Linked DNA regions of Homo sapiens: all the other regions are linked to region 3. The links are contacts of gene promoters, found by promoter capture Hi-C in human tissues and cell types (Jung and others, 2019). All regions are on one chromosome and are shown on one strand. Each heading gives the region's core, a stretch centred on a gene start or on the middle of the fragment in contact. The rest is flanking DNA. Distances are from core to core; before and after follow the strand shown.

What was found. The method cuts DNA at HindIII sites, captures the fragments that hold promoters and counts their contacts. A contact is called where the count stands out against the background at its distance.
Region 1: a contact is called between a fragment that was not itself captured here and the fragment with the promoter of EXD2 in region 3, in 1 of the 25 tissues and cell types used here (IMR-90 fibroblasts).
Region 2: a fragment that was not itself captured here is called in contact with the fragment with the promoter of EXD2 in region 3 in 1 of the 25 tissues and cell types used here (IMR-90 fibroblasts).

The regions. Positions count from the first base shown.
Region 1 is chr14:69,383,230-69,387,797 of GRCh38, reverse strand. ERH (ERH mRNA splicing and mitosis factor) reads left to right here. Exons shown (of 4, transcript NM_004450.3): 3 at 715-835. It also overlaps a transcript of GALNT16 not described here. Among named protein-coding and RNA genes, the nearest start is that of ERH, 13 kb to the left of the region's middle. The HindIII fragment of the contact is 7,932 bases long and covers 1-4,568 here.
Region 2 is chr14:69,357,515-69,362,367 of GRCh38, reverse strand. It overlaps a transcript of GALNT16 not described here. Among named protein-coding and RNA genes, the nearest start is that of ERH, 38 kb to the left of the region's middle. RefSeq lists an enhancer at 1,342-1,421. The HindIII fragment of the contact is 6,134 bases long and covers 1-4,818 here.
Region 3 is chr14:69,189,554-69,194,212 of GRCh38, reverse strand. It overlaps EXD2 (exonuclease 3'-5' domain containing 2), which reads right to left and starts at 2,715. Exons shown (of 10, transcript NM_001193360.2): 1 at 2,622-2,715. The region is part of intron 3 of GALNT16-AS1 (GALNT16 and EXD2 antisense RNA 1); the gene reads left to right. RefSeq lists a silencer at 2,305-2,494. The HindIII fragment of the contact is 7,126 bases long and covers 1,140-4,659 here.

The sequences.
Region 1 (4,568 bases), core at 1,076-3,575, 190 kb before region 3:
GCTGGGATTACAGGCGTGAGCCACTGTGCCCGGCCTAGTCTAGGATCTTAAATATACATTAGGATAATCTCTTTCCTTGTTGCCAATTTTTTTTTTTTTTTTGCTCTGTGGCTTTAGGAAGAATTACTGAAAAACCTGTTAAGACCCACAGTGTTATTTGTTTGAGCCATCAGATGGCAAGTCTTTAAAGCCCCTTAGCTCCAGTGGTTTGAAGTAATCATTTTATTATTAAGACACAAAATAGTTACATCAACATTGTGGTGAATTTCTCAGCTGCCCAGACTGGAGTGCAGTGATGCAATCACGGCTCACTGCAGCCAAGTGATTCTCCCACCTCAGCTTCCCAGGTAGCTGGGACCACAAGCACACGCCATCACGCCTGGCTAATTTTTTAATTTTTGTAGAGATGAGGTCTCCCTGTGTTGCCCAGGCAGGCTGGTCTTAAACTGTGGGGCTCAAGTGATGCTCCTGCCTCAGCCTCCCAAAGAGCTGGGATTACAGGCGTAAGCCACTACACCTGACCTGGTGAATTTATAAAATAAAAAAGTATTTGCTAGTGGCAATAATCAAAAGCCATCAATCTATCATCTTTTCCCCAGCCCAACTTTATTAAAGTAAATATGATATCAACATATAGCACAGCTCATAAGCACTGCTCATATCTAGAAGTGTATGCGATTGTAAGATTTTGCTTTTTTTCCTATCCTTTCTTAGGTGTTTGTAAAATGTATGAAGAACATCTGAAAAGAATGAATCCCAACAGTCCCTCTATCACATATGACATCAGTCAGTTGTTTGATTTCATCGATGATCTGGCAGACCTCAGCTGCCTGGTGTAAGTATTAGCCAACATGTCTTTTATCTTGTATTTTCTATTGCTTTTCTGTCTGTTTGAGGTGATTTATGGTATTGGGAGCTAATTATGTGCCTGATACTGATCTTTGCATTTGCATAGTGTATAGTAATTAATATTTCTCTTACAGAAATAAGAGATTGGCAACATAAAGCCAAAGGCACAGAAAAAAATAACTTTGCTAATTGATATAGTTAGTATCCAGAAAGGATCCTAATTCAGAAGTTCCATGTGCCTCTTCTTTGTTCCTTATACCTAATTTTTTTTTTCCTTTACAGTCTTTGTCTTAAAGCCATTGGTTTTGGATTAAAACTAAGATTATCTTTTTTTCATGACATTTCAAAAACTTAAATATGCGTATAGCTGAAATTTAATTTCAATCCTACGCTGTGTAAGTACGTATATTTTGGTATGTTAGAGTGAGATTTTTTAACATATTTGTTATAGTTTGTATTGATAATCTGCTTCTGACAATTACTAACAAGGAGCATAAAGTGTTACTGTAGACTTACCTAATCTTTTTTACATTAGCGAACAGAAATTGAGTGTAAATACAGCTCATTTAACCGAGGAAAATGGAAGCACCTTATGATACAATACTCAATCATCAGATACTTGAATATTTATTACATGTCAGGTGCTGTGCTAGAAGTTGAAAGAGCAGTGATGAGAAATATACAAGTCTTACTCATAGGCACTTCCTGGATCACCACTGGAGCCAATCATGGAATGTGGCTGCACCATGCTGTCTCCCCAAAAGTTCCAAAACACGCATTTCCTTGGGATGTTTGAGTTTTGTTTTCTGTACCTCTTCATTGTGTTCCGGTTGTAGCCATTTCACTTTGATCACTCAGAACATTCAAATGAATGTTGCATGGTACTTTAAGCCATTCAGACATCTATAGGAAAAACATACCAGACAGAGGGGATGAGGGACAGCTAGTGTAGAAGTCCTGAAGTAGGAGTGCCTAGCATGTTTGAAGTCATTAAGGAAGCCTTTGAGGCTGCAGAGGAATGAGTGAAGGAGAGTGTCTTAGGAGATTGGAGGAGCAGGGAGCAATGATATCCTGGAAGCCAAATGCAGAAGTGTGTCATATCATTGATAGGACAGATATGTGAGGACTGAGAATTTAATTGACCCCTGGATTTGACACTGTGGAAGTCTTTGGTGACTTCCAGAACGGTTGTGGTAGAGTGCCAGGAGTAAAATGCTTACAGATTTCAGTGTATGGAAGGGAATGAAAAGAGAGGATTTATAGGTGGCCATTACAGGCTTGCTTTTTTTTTTTTTTTCCTTTTTTTTATTTAAAGAATTTTGCTTGAAAGAACAGAAAAATGGGGTTGTAGCTGGAGAAAGAAATTGCTTTTTTTTAAGTGGGAAAAGTAATGGTAAGTTTGCAGGCTGATGGGATGATGTACCAGAGAAGGAGAAACTGATAGCTCAAATTGGCTCTTGGACAGTTCAATCATAAAAAAGGGAGGACAGGCAAATTTGGGAGCTGGGGGGAATTATCTTCTGTATGCTTCAGTTATCTCAGAAAGATAAGGAGCAAGGACATCATTTGAAACAGGTGTTACAGGTTTGTGGAAAAGTAAGAAATAAGCTAGGAAGGTGAAAGAATTAGGGAACTGCAATTAATTCAGGGATGCATTAAGTGTCCTCCAAAGTACCTATCTGATAGTGATTTAAAGTGAAATCAGTCATTGTGATCATGGGATTTTTTTCCTAGTCTCTCTCACCTGGATGGTTACAGGTGAGGAGTAGGTAGAGAGTAAAGATTTTGCTAAAGGTTGAGGGCATATATGAGGACAACAGCAACGACTGAATGACCATGAGCTTTAATTGGGGGTGTAGGAGGAGGTGCTGGAAACAGAGGTAGATCAGTTCATTGTAGGTCCCACTGGATCAAGGATTGCTCACATTAGAGTGTTAGGAAGTGGTGATCAGAGAATGACATGCTTGAAATTAGGAAATTGAAGTAGTTGGAAATGACAAGGTCTAGGGATCTGGCCAAGAGAGGGTAGGAGATGAGATCATTAGAGGAAAAGACTTCATGGAATTGGGAGGCCTAAGTGTTGACAGAATCATCCACTGGATATGAAATTACCAATAATGTGTATATTAATTGATAGAATTTAAGAAGAAGTTGCTTTGTGTTTGTTCACTGCTGCATCTCTGGTACATAATTAGTGCTGAGTAAATATTGGTTATATAAATGCACGTCACTTGTGTTGTTATTTGAGGAATAGCTTTCTAAAATTATTGATAATTTTCTATTTCCCTTATTTATATTACAGAGCTATATTCTGCATTGATTAAAAATTAATGGTTGTCTTTATGGTTTTATAAAAGAACCTTACTGAAACATTCAGGATGTAATCCTGACGCTTTTGGGATGTCATACTTACTCCCAGTAAGTGGGAAGTAAACTTGAAGCAAAGGATCATGTTTTACTTGTCTTGGGAGGCTGTGGTTAAGAGCTAGCTGGAGTGGCAGAATTAGACATAGCTGGGTTTGAATCCTGGGTCTACCATTTGCTAGCTCCCTTTGACAAGGCAGCTTTGTATTGCTAAACTTTAGTTTGCTAATTTGTAAAATTCAGACAAATCTAGTTCATAAGACTCCTTGTGAGGATCAAGTGCTTGCTGAGCACAGCATTATTAGATATGCAGCAACTCCCTTTTCAACTAGATTGAAGAAGTCAGGATAGAGTTTTATTTTTAATTACAAGCATGTTCTTAAATTTGCCAGGAGTAGAATGATATGAATTTTAATGTCTACGTGTGAGATAAATTATAAATTTCAAGGGAGATTTAAAAGGTGTTGAGGTTTTTTCAACAATATGAAAATTGAGCAGAGTAAAACAGTTACAAGTGACATGTTAATGATATACAAGTATGTCATTAATGACATAACATAACTTTTCTAACTTTGTACTAGACTTTATAAAAAAAAAATTTTAGAGACAGGGTCTTGCTATATTACCCAGGCTGGTCTCAAACTCCTGGGCTCAAGTGATCCTCCTTCCTCAGCCTCCCCAAGGAGTGATATTACAGGCATGAGCAACTGTGCCCGGCTGCATTAGACTTTAAAATGTAAACTAGAAACCATATCTAGCATACTAAACTGATTTTTAATACAATATTTGCTATATTAAAGCAACATAGGGGGAAAGCTTTAATTATTACCTAGATAATTCTTCCCACCTACAGTATTTCCAGAAATATAGAAGAGAGGTTAATGATAATTTATGGTTTTTTAGTAGTTTCAGAGTGTTAAAAACCGTAAATTATCATAGCTTGAAAACCTGTAACTATTTGTTTGTTTCTAATGTTGAAAATTTTTTGGCCTCTGAAAAACTTTCAGAATCAAATTTAGGATTTAAAACTATTTTCCCCAGGTGACTTTGGTTATGTCCTTTTTGTTCTTTGAATATTCAGGAGAAATAAGGTATTGTTTCCAAAGAGGTAACCCACTGCCACAGCACATCCTGTGATTTGGGCCGTTACTCCTCAGACCAGAGACTGGGTCCGTTTTTGGTTTGTAGATGGTTGTGTGCTCATAGTTTCTATTAAATTTACATGGCAGTGACCTAGGACTTTTTTAAATTAATTCTTTTTAAACAGCGTAGGTGGAAATGGAATAAATAAGATTCTACTTTGTAACATGACTAAACCCAGAGCAAACTGACCATGCATTAATAATAAAATGTAG
Region 2 (4,853 bases), core at 502-3,001, 170 kb before region 3:
TCCACCTCAAGTGGACAAAGCCACAAGGCAGAGTACACACGGGTCTGAACAAGCTCAAAACGAATGTCTGAGGACAAATAAGGCAGAGCAGAGAACCCTGAGGCCGGGAGGACATTGGGAACAAATACCCCTGGCCAGGAGGCAGGGAGAAAACAGGCCATGCTGGACATAGCCCTGGGCCCTCAGGCCAGCTCAGTCAGGGGTCTCACCCTCCCGAGCCCCAGAGAAGATGCCTGGCCCCAAGGCAGACCATTCGCAATCGCCTCCAGAGCTACATCACGGGACATTGTATTCTTGGATCTACCATGTCCTGTGCTCCCAATTTCCTGCCCTGTGACTTTATTATTTATTTATTTATTTTGAGATGGAGTCTCATTCTGTCACCCAGGCTGGAGTGCAGTGGCGTGATTTCGGCTTACTGCAGTCTCCGCCTCCCAGGTTCAAGCATTTTTCCTGCCTCAGCCTCCTGAGGAGCTGGGATTATAGGCATGCGCCACCACACCTGGCTAATTATTGTTTTTTTAGTAGAGACGGAGTTTCGCCATCCATGCCAGGCTGGTCTTGAACTCCTGACCTCAGGTGATCCACCTGCCTCGGCCTCCCAAAGTGCTGGGATTACAGGTGTGAGCCACCGCACTGGGCCCCCTGTGACTTTAGGTGCTTTAGCCTCTCATCCTGTTTCTACATCTGCAAAATGATGATTGTGGAACCAACGTTGGCTCATCCTACCTCCATTCTAAGAATCAGCCATGTAAGGATACGGGATGTGGGGACAAAAGCTCTCAGCCTGTTAGAGCTTTGCACAGGGCCTCAGTGTCCTCAAGTGCAACATGGGGATAACAGTACAAACATGTCAGTGTTCTATGAATATACAGACTGATGGGTGAAAGGCAATAAGGAGCAGCAAGGAGCATGGACCCTGGATCAGACTTCATGATTTTAAATCCTGGCCCTCCATCCTGCCAGCTGGGTAATCTTGGGCAGATATGTTAACTTCTCTGGGCTTTGATATCTAGTTTGTAAATGGGGTGGTATTGAAAATACCTACCTGATAGAGTTGTAAAGATCAAAGAAGATAAAATGTGTGTCTCAGTGTTTGGTCAGTGACTGACAGGACCAGTTATAAATGTCATTGAATGGAGTACTCATAGAAAGGGCTTTGCCATGTAACTCACGGTAAAATGTATGCCTGTCCTGCAGGCTGGAGGATGCAGCACTGATTCCTTGATTAATAGATCTTCTGAGGCAGAAGCTCTTCTAGAATGAAGTCAACCATATGTGGCTGGTATTGGGGAAGAAACTCATAAATCATGCAAAGCGAGGCTGGCATGTGGCAGCTGGTTCAGTGGCAACCCTCAGCCCAGCCCAGTGCCCACTCTCCCTCCGCCTCAGAGTGATCCATCACTGCCCAGAGCTCTGTGGCAGGCAGCTTGCTTAGCAGGGGCAGGGCCCGCAGCACCCAGCTCTCTGAGCCTTCTGCACCACGTGGTGACACGTGGCCCCGTCAGGGGACCAGAACCCATCTCAGTCACCAGAACAGTGGCTCTCAAACCTGAGCATGCATCAGAATCCCCAAGAGGCTTGTTAAACTCAGAGGGCTGGCCCCACCCCCAGAGTTTCTGATTCAGTAGGTCTGAGTGGGGCCCAAGGGTTTGCATTTCTTCATTTCTTTTCTTTTCTTTTTTCTTTCCTTTTTTTTCTTCTATTCTTCTCTCCTCTCCTCTCTTCTCTTTTCTTCTCCTTCTTCTTCTTCTTTTTTTTTTAGACAGTCTCACTCTGTCTCCCAGGCTCAGCTCACTGCAACCTCCACCTCCTGGGTTCAAGGGATTCTCCTGCCTCGGCCTCCCAGATAGCTGGGACTACAGGCACTGGGCATCATGCCCAGCTCATTTTTGTATTTTTAGTAGAGATGTGGTTTCACCATGTTGGCCAGGCTGGTCTCGAACTCCTGGCCTCAAGTGATCCACCTGTCTCAGTCTCCTAATCGGCCTCTTCTTTTTTTTTTTTTCTTTTTGAGATAGGGTCTCGCTCTGTTGCCCAGGCTGGAAGTGCAGTGCTGCAATCATAACTCACTGCAGCCTCAACCTCCTGGGATCAAGTGATCCTCCCGCCTCAGCCTTCTGAGTAGCTGGGACTACAGGCATGCACCACCACACCTGGCTAATTTTTAAATTTATAGTATAGATGAGGTCTCACTATTTTGCCCAGGCTGGTTTCAAACTCCTGAGTTCAAGTGGTCCTCCTACCTTAGCCTCCCAAAGTGCTGGGATTCTAGGCAGGAATCGCTGTGCCTGGCCAAGAGTTTGCATTTCTTTTTTTCTTTATTTTATTTTATTTTATTTTTGAGACAGAGTCCCACTCCGTCGCCAGGCTGGAGTGCAATGACACAATCTCGGCTCACTGCAACCTCTGCCTCCTGGGTTCAAGTGATTCTCCTGCCTCAGCCTCCCGAGTAGCTGGGACTACAGGCGTGTGCCACCCGCCTGGATAATTTTTTGTATTTTTAGTAGAGATGGGGTTTCACCACATTAGCCAGGATGGTCTCGATCTCCTGACCTTGTGATTGCCCACCGCGGCCTCCCAAAGTGCTGGAATTCCAGGCGTGAGCCACCGCGTCTGGCCCAGAGTTTACATTTCTAATAAGTTCCCAGCTGAAGGGGCTGGTCTGTGGGACCATTGACACATGCTCCTGTGAGAGTGAGTTTAAACCTAGCTGTTTATCCTTGGGCAAATTTCTTCTCTCAACTGAGCCTCCCCTCCTCATCCATAAAGTGAGTGTATGAGAACCTACCTCATTGGAGTGCATATGGTAGCCTTACTAAGATTCTGGGTACCCAGAAAGTGCTCAATCTGTGTCAGTCCTCAGCATCACCAACACATTGCTGTTGAGACAACTAATGAATAGGGAGGGTGGAGTTGTGGCAACATCAAACTTGTAAGAAGTGAGACGAAAAATGGACAAGTGTATATTGCGTGCTTTCTATGTGCAGTGTACTAATTCCTAAATGCCAAAATGCTTTATCATTAAAAGACAAAGCAAAACAAAAACAAACCCAGTTAGAATGCTTTATCTTTAATTAATTCATTCAGCAAACAAACATTTGCTGTAAGTCTGAGAAGCAGGTTCTGTGCTGTAGCAGTGGGAGGTATGAAGCTGGAGCAGGCGTGGTTCCTGTCAGCAAGGAGCTACAATCTAACAGAAAAAAGAGGACAAGACTAGAGAAGACAGGAACACACCATAGCGTATGGAGGAAGGTGATGACAGGCTGGGAAGGAACGCTCAGCACCCTGAAGAAGCAAGCTGGAGAGGTACTTTTCAGACAGGTGGGGGATCAGGAAGGGTTTCCTTGCAGAAGCAGCACTTGTCTGGGAAAATGGGTAGCATTTAACTCATGGAGTTAACAAAGTATGGGGCAGAAGAAACAGCAAAAGCACAAACAAGAGAAAGCAGAAAGCAACTTCGCACTACACGACTCAGGTCACTTTGGCTGATTGTAGGGTGAGGAAGAGAGAGTGGAAGCCGAGGTTGGCCTGGCTGTCTGCCATCAGGCATTGGATAGTTGTAACCATCGGTGGTTCATGGGGCTCCTCTGAGAGCATTCCACCGTCTTTGTGGGGCAGGTGTTCAGTATACCACTGTGGGCTTGATGATGGGTGTGATGATGACGCACCGGTGTGAGAGCTTGCATGTTCTAGGAGGGGGAACCCCCCGGAGCTCTAAGCACTGCCAAAGCCAGCTCACCTTCCCAGCATCCTTCAGAAGGAGAAGTCAGTCCCAAGCCCCCACCTGATGGCTGCAGAACCAAGGCCACACCGCACACCCAAGAGAAAGCTCCCAGTGCCACTCTGCTGCTCCACCTGCTGCCCCCACAACTTACTGTGACCTGATTTAACCTTAGCATCCCCCACACTCCCACCCCCAGGGAGGCCAAGGCTCTGGAAGGCAGAGTCATCCTGGGCGAGGGGCAGCCCCTGCCCTTGTGGGCAGAGAAACCTGGAGCTCTGCAGCTGCCTGACAGGGTTGTGGGAACTGCAGTCCACCCACGGGGAGAGGAGCAAGCCTCCTGCCATGCTGAGAGCCATCTCTGACTCAAACTGTGGGGAGGGGCCCAGACAGAGACCCCATCGAGGTGGCCCTAGAGCAACTGTCTCCAGAGACTCTTACCTCCTGGTTCTCCTGCCAGAGAGTCCCCCAGACTCTCCTGCCATCCCTAGTTTCCCATCCAACTGAGGGTCTCCCAGCTGGGGACTCTCCACCACTGCTGGGCTCAGACCTCCGGGTCCAAGATGTGGTCCCTACATTCTTCTGGCTCCTGGGGAAGTACAGTAAGGAGTACAAGGGTAGCCTTCTTTCCCCCTGGCTTCTCCCTCTTGTAGTGAGTCCAGTGCTGAGTGTCAGGGTACTCAATCCAGGGCCCAGCTCATTCTGATTCTCTCCTGCACAGCTTCCCCTCTCTGGGCCTCCAGCTCTCCTTCCTGGTGCATGGGACTTAAATGTGCAAACGCATCACTTGGACCACTCAATACAAACACAGGAATTCTAAGCCTCCCCGTCTGGGTCAGACCCAGGAGCATACAGGTCTACAATCCCTCCAGGGATACTGAGCAGGTTATCTGGACCACATCTTAAGAGACACATATTTGAAAGACAAATTGTTGAAAGACCGGCTTTGTTTTCAGATGGCTTGAGGGGATCAGAAGCAACCTGAGAGCCAGGCAAAAACAAGTCTTTCCTGGAACGCCTCCACCATGAGTATCCCTTCTCTCCAGAGAAGGATCACTAATTCCCGTACCAACTAGACCCACCTTCCCGAAGGAAGAATACCGAGCCCTGGAGGAATGGTCCCTAGCTC
Region 3 (4,659 bases), core at 1,466-3,965:
GAGCTGAGATCGCGCCACTGCACTCCAGCCTGGGCGACACAGCGAGACTCTGACTCAAAAAAAAAAAAAAGAATGGACTGACTGTTCGAGGTGACAGTATTTGGAAAACAACAATCACACACACACAATTCCAGAGGAATTAAAGAAAAAAAACTATTCCCACAAGAAGAACTTCAAGGAGAAAACAGAGCTTTAGGAGAAAACCCTCCTCTCTCTAAAAGTAGAGAAGGATTTTTCAACTTCAGCACAACTGACATTTTTGGCTGGTGAAATTCTTTGTTGTGGGAAGCTTTCCCGTGCGCTGTAGGATGTTTAGCAGCACCCTCGCTTTTACTCACTAGATAACCAATAGCAGCACCATCCTAGTGGAACAAACAAAAAATGTTTACAGACATTGCCAAATAACCCCGAGAGCAAAAATCTCTGCCATTTAAGAACCACTCGGATTGGGAATGATAGCCACAAAATACAAACACACACATAACAGACTGATAAATTAAAACCTAAAATTTTAAACTTTGTTTCAACAAAGATGCCATATAGTTAAAAGACAAGCAACAACTTAAAAAAGCAATAAGCAGGGAGTAAATATTATAAACACATATGAATAACAAAAGATCAAAATCCAGAACATATAAAATACTATTATAAATCAATAAGGAAAAGACAATCCAATAGAAAGAGATGTTTCTCAAAAGAGGAAATACAAATGGCTGACAATCATGAAGATGTTCAATCTCAATAGTAATCAGGGGAATGCAAATTAAAACAGCAAAGAGAAATCACTTTTCCATCCATCAGATTGGCAAAAACAAAAAAGATCGATACCATTAAATGATCAAAAGAGCATGGTGGGCCAGACACGGTGGCTCACGCCTGTAATCCCATCACTTCGGGAGGCCAAGGCAGGCGGATCACTCGAGTTTAGGAGTTTGAGACCAGCCTGGCAAATACGGTGAAACCCCGTCTCTACTAAAAATACAAAAATTAGCCAGGCGTGGTAGCGGGTGCCTGTAATACCAGCTACTCGGGAGGCTGAGGCAGGAGAATCGCTTGAACCTGGGAGGCAGAGGCTGCAGTGAGCTGAGATCACGCCACTGCACTCCAACCTGGGCAACAGAGCAAGACTCTGTCTCAAAAAAAAAAAAAAAAGAGAGAGAGAATGGAGGAAATTATTATCCACCGTGGGTGGCAGTTTGGCATTCCTAAATCCCCATACTCTCCCACCCAGCAATTCCACCTGCAGGTACCCATCCTTGAGAAATGCTCTCACATGGGCTCTCACAGAGGTGTGTGGGAAGGATGTTCTCCGCCATACTGTGTCTAACAATGAAAAACTGGAAACAATCTATGGAATCTTACATAACCATGGAATTTACAGAGCAAGTAGAAAGAATAGGTAGATCTCTAGGTACTGACAAAGAAAAAATTCCAAGACCCGTTTTTAAGCATAAAACGTCAAGTTGTGTAATGCATAAAACATGCATATTTGTAAAAGTTTAAAGCGAAATCTTACAAACATATATCTTATACGTACACATACTTGTCAAATAAATGCAAAGAAAAATACACACAAACTGACAACAGTTCTTATTTTGTGGGAAAGGGACTGGTAAAGAAGGTGGAGATGGAAAAAAACAAAATCAAAGAGGATCTGTCTTCCACACTCCCCACCCTCACCACCAAGAACATCAAGCTAAGAAAGATCTGTGTTTAAAATTTTTACATAATTTTGTTACAAGGCTTTATGCACGGACTATAACTAGAATATTTTAAAAATACATTTTTAAAACAAGCTCAACTTGACCAAATTTAATCCATCTTCCCCGCTGCGCCCCAACCCGCACTTCCTAATTCCTATGATTAACAAAACCTTTCAATTCCTTCTATCCTTGGAACAGAACTAAGAAAATAAAGTATAATTTCAATTTTGTGTTTTTGAGGAGAGGGTATATAAAGGAGTTTGAATGTTGGAATCATATCAAAAGCTTATCGGGGGATTGGTTTGTTTGTATTTTAAGGAGCAGATGTCAATTTTGTAATAAATAATGATTAAGGTTCTTAGTTTTGATCCATCCCAGGGATGTGAAAAGCCAAAGAGGTGGCTCCCGGCAAGGCCCAGAGCAGGGTGTGGTCTGGGAGGACAGGGATGGTAGCGAGGGTGGCGGCTCACACGAATCCAGGAGAGAAAACAGCAGCTGTTGCCGCGTCGAACCCGCAGCGCCCGAGGAGCTACCAGGTGCCGCGGGCGGGGCCTCCTTTTTAGCTGACTGGGACACGCAGCCTCGAAGGTCTGGTAGAGTCTCCCAGGGAGAGGGTAAGGGGGTCGAAAGGAGAGGCCCAAGGAGGGCGTGGGAGGCCGCGGGCAGGGGTGAGGCCCTCCTTGCGCACCTGGGTGCTGAACCGCCCCGCCGTGTGCGACGGGGGCGAGGGGGTCACGCCGAGGGGCGGGGAGAGGGGCAGGGCCAACTCGCTCCGGGACAGCGGGGGCCCCGCAATGTCACCCCCGTACACGGTAATATCCCCCCGCTCCACGACCCCTCTTAGTCTGCACTGGAAGCACCCCCTGCCCCGCGCACAATCCTGGTGCAAGGCTTCGCCGGCTTCTGAGCCTCACTTACCTGCTGTCTCGGACTGGGCCGCACACCTGCAGCGGGCTCACGTTAAAGACCTGGAACCTGTGCGGCCGCCTGCGCGCACCCACCCGGATTCACTAGGGCCGTAACCACTTCCGTTCCTGCGACAGGCCTGGAGGACGTAATCCCAGCTGGCGTGTGGGAACGGGCAACGCCATTTTGTACGGAAGCTACTGGGGCAGGTGATGCCTACCCAGTCTCTCTCCTCTGTTGAACAAAGGATCTGTTAAAATTGGAAGGGCTTAACGTCTTCTTCAGAAAAGTGACGCATTTGTTACTGGGATGGTATGTTTGTGTTTTGGTTTTGGCTTTGAAGGGAGAAACCTCCAGAACTCTCACAAATGTAATATGGGACATCGAATTTTCCTTCTTTAGTATCCTGCGTACTGTTTTTCTGCTAAACGATAACAGTAAATAGAAGGAAAGACACTGTATTTAAATAATGTAGTCTTCATTAGCAGTGCACATTATCCTATAGCCACTATAATAATTTTATGTACCCTCCTTTTTTTTTTTTTTTTTTTTTTTTGTAGATACTGTCTCCCTACATTGCCTAGGCTGGTCTCGAACTCCTGGGCTCAAGCGAACCTCACAACTCGGCCTCCCAAAGTGCTGGGATTACAGGCGTGAATGCCCAACCTATGCCATCTTTTATAGCGATAACCACAATACTTTTTGTTTATATATTAAATCGTTCATCCAATCAGTCTTTATTAGCAATTATATGTGAGGCAGTTAATCTGTGCTACATGCATGCTTTTCCTTTCTCATGGAATGTGTAAAACAGAAGGAGAAATGAGATGTGCATAAATAACCAATATAAGGTATAATAATAGCTACCATTTGTTGACTTTGTGCTCACCTGTTGCTAGGAACTTTGCAAAGCATTTTACTTATTTTTTCTCCTTTAATCCCCATAACAACCCTGTGAGGCAGTACTATTATTAGTGCCGTTTTACATAAAATAGAAAAAGGTTAAATAACTTCCTCAAGGTAATTCAGCAAGTAAGCACCGGAGTTAGGAATCAAACCTCATATTTCTGATTGCAGAGCATGTGGCCCCATCCTTTATACTATATTGCCTTCAATACAGGGGCAAATGTTTTAAATTCCATTGAATGAGTACCCATGGGGGAAATTTCCAGCTATTATAGAGGATTAACTCCCTGAATTTTTATCTGCTCCATCTTGAAACACTTAAAAAACAAAGGATAAAGAGGAAATGCAAATTAAAACCACAATGAGATATAGCTAAATGAAAAAGAAAATGTCAAGTATTGGCAAGATTGTGGAGCAACCACAACTCTCATATGCTCCTGAAGGGAACATAAATTGATGCAATCACTTTGTTTAACTGTTTGGCGGTATCAACTGAATCTGAATATGTGAAAAGACTTTGTTCCAACAATTTCACCCCTAGCTGGGGCACAGTGGCTCAACGTGTCATCCCAGCACTTTAGGGATTTTCACTGTGTTGCCCAGGCTGGTCTTGAACTCCTGGCCTCAAGCGATCCTCCCACCTCGGCCTCCCAAAGTGCTGGGCATCATGGTGTGCACCTGTAGTCCCAGCTACTCCAGAAGCTTAGGCAGGAGGACGTCTTGATCCCTGGAGTTTGAGGCTGCAGTGAGTTGTGATCACACCACTGCAGTCCAGCATAGGTGACAGAGCTAGACCCTGTCTCGAAAACAAAAACAACAAAAAACAATTTTACTCCTAGTTATATATATGCAACTGAAATGTCTGCATGTATTCACCAAAAGGACATGTACAAAAAAAAGCTCATACCCATACTTTCAACAGCCCCAAACGGGAAACTACCCAAATATCCCTGCTATTAGAAGTCACTGTATATAATGATTAATCTTAGGGTAGTAATAACTGGAAGGGAACATGAGGAGGTTCACGAAGTGCTGATAATGTTCTATTTCTTAATCTGAGTGCGGCTTTACATGTGTGTTCAGGTTATATTTGTGAGCACTTTTCTGGTTTCATATATACTTCGATAAAAGGGTTTTTAAAAAT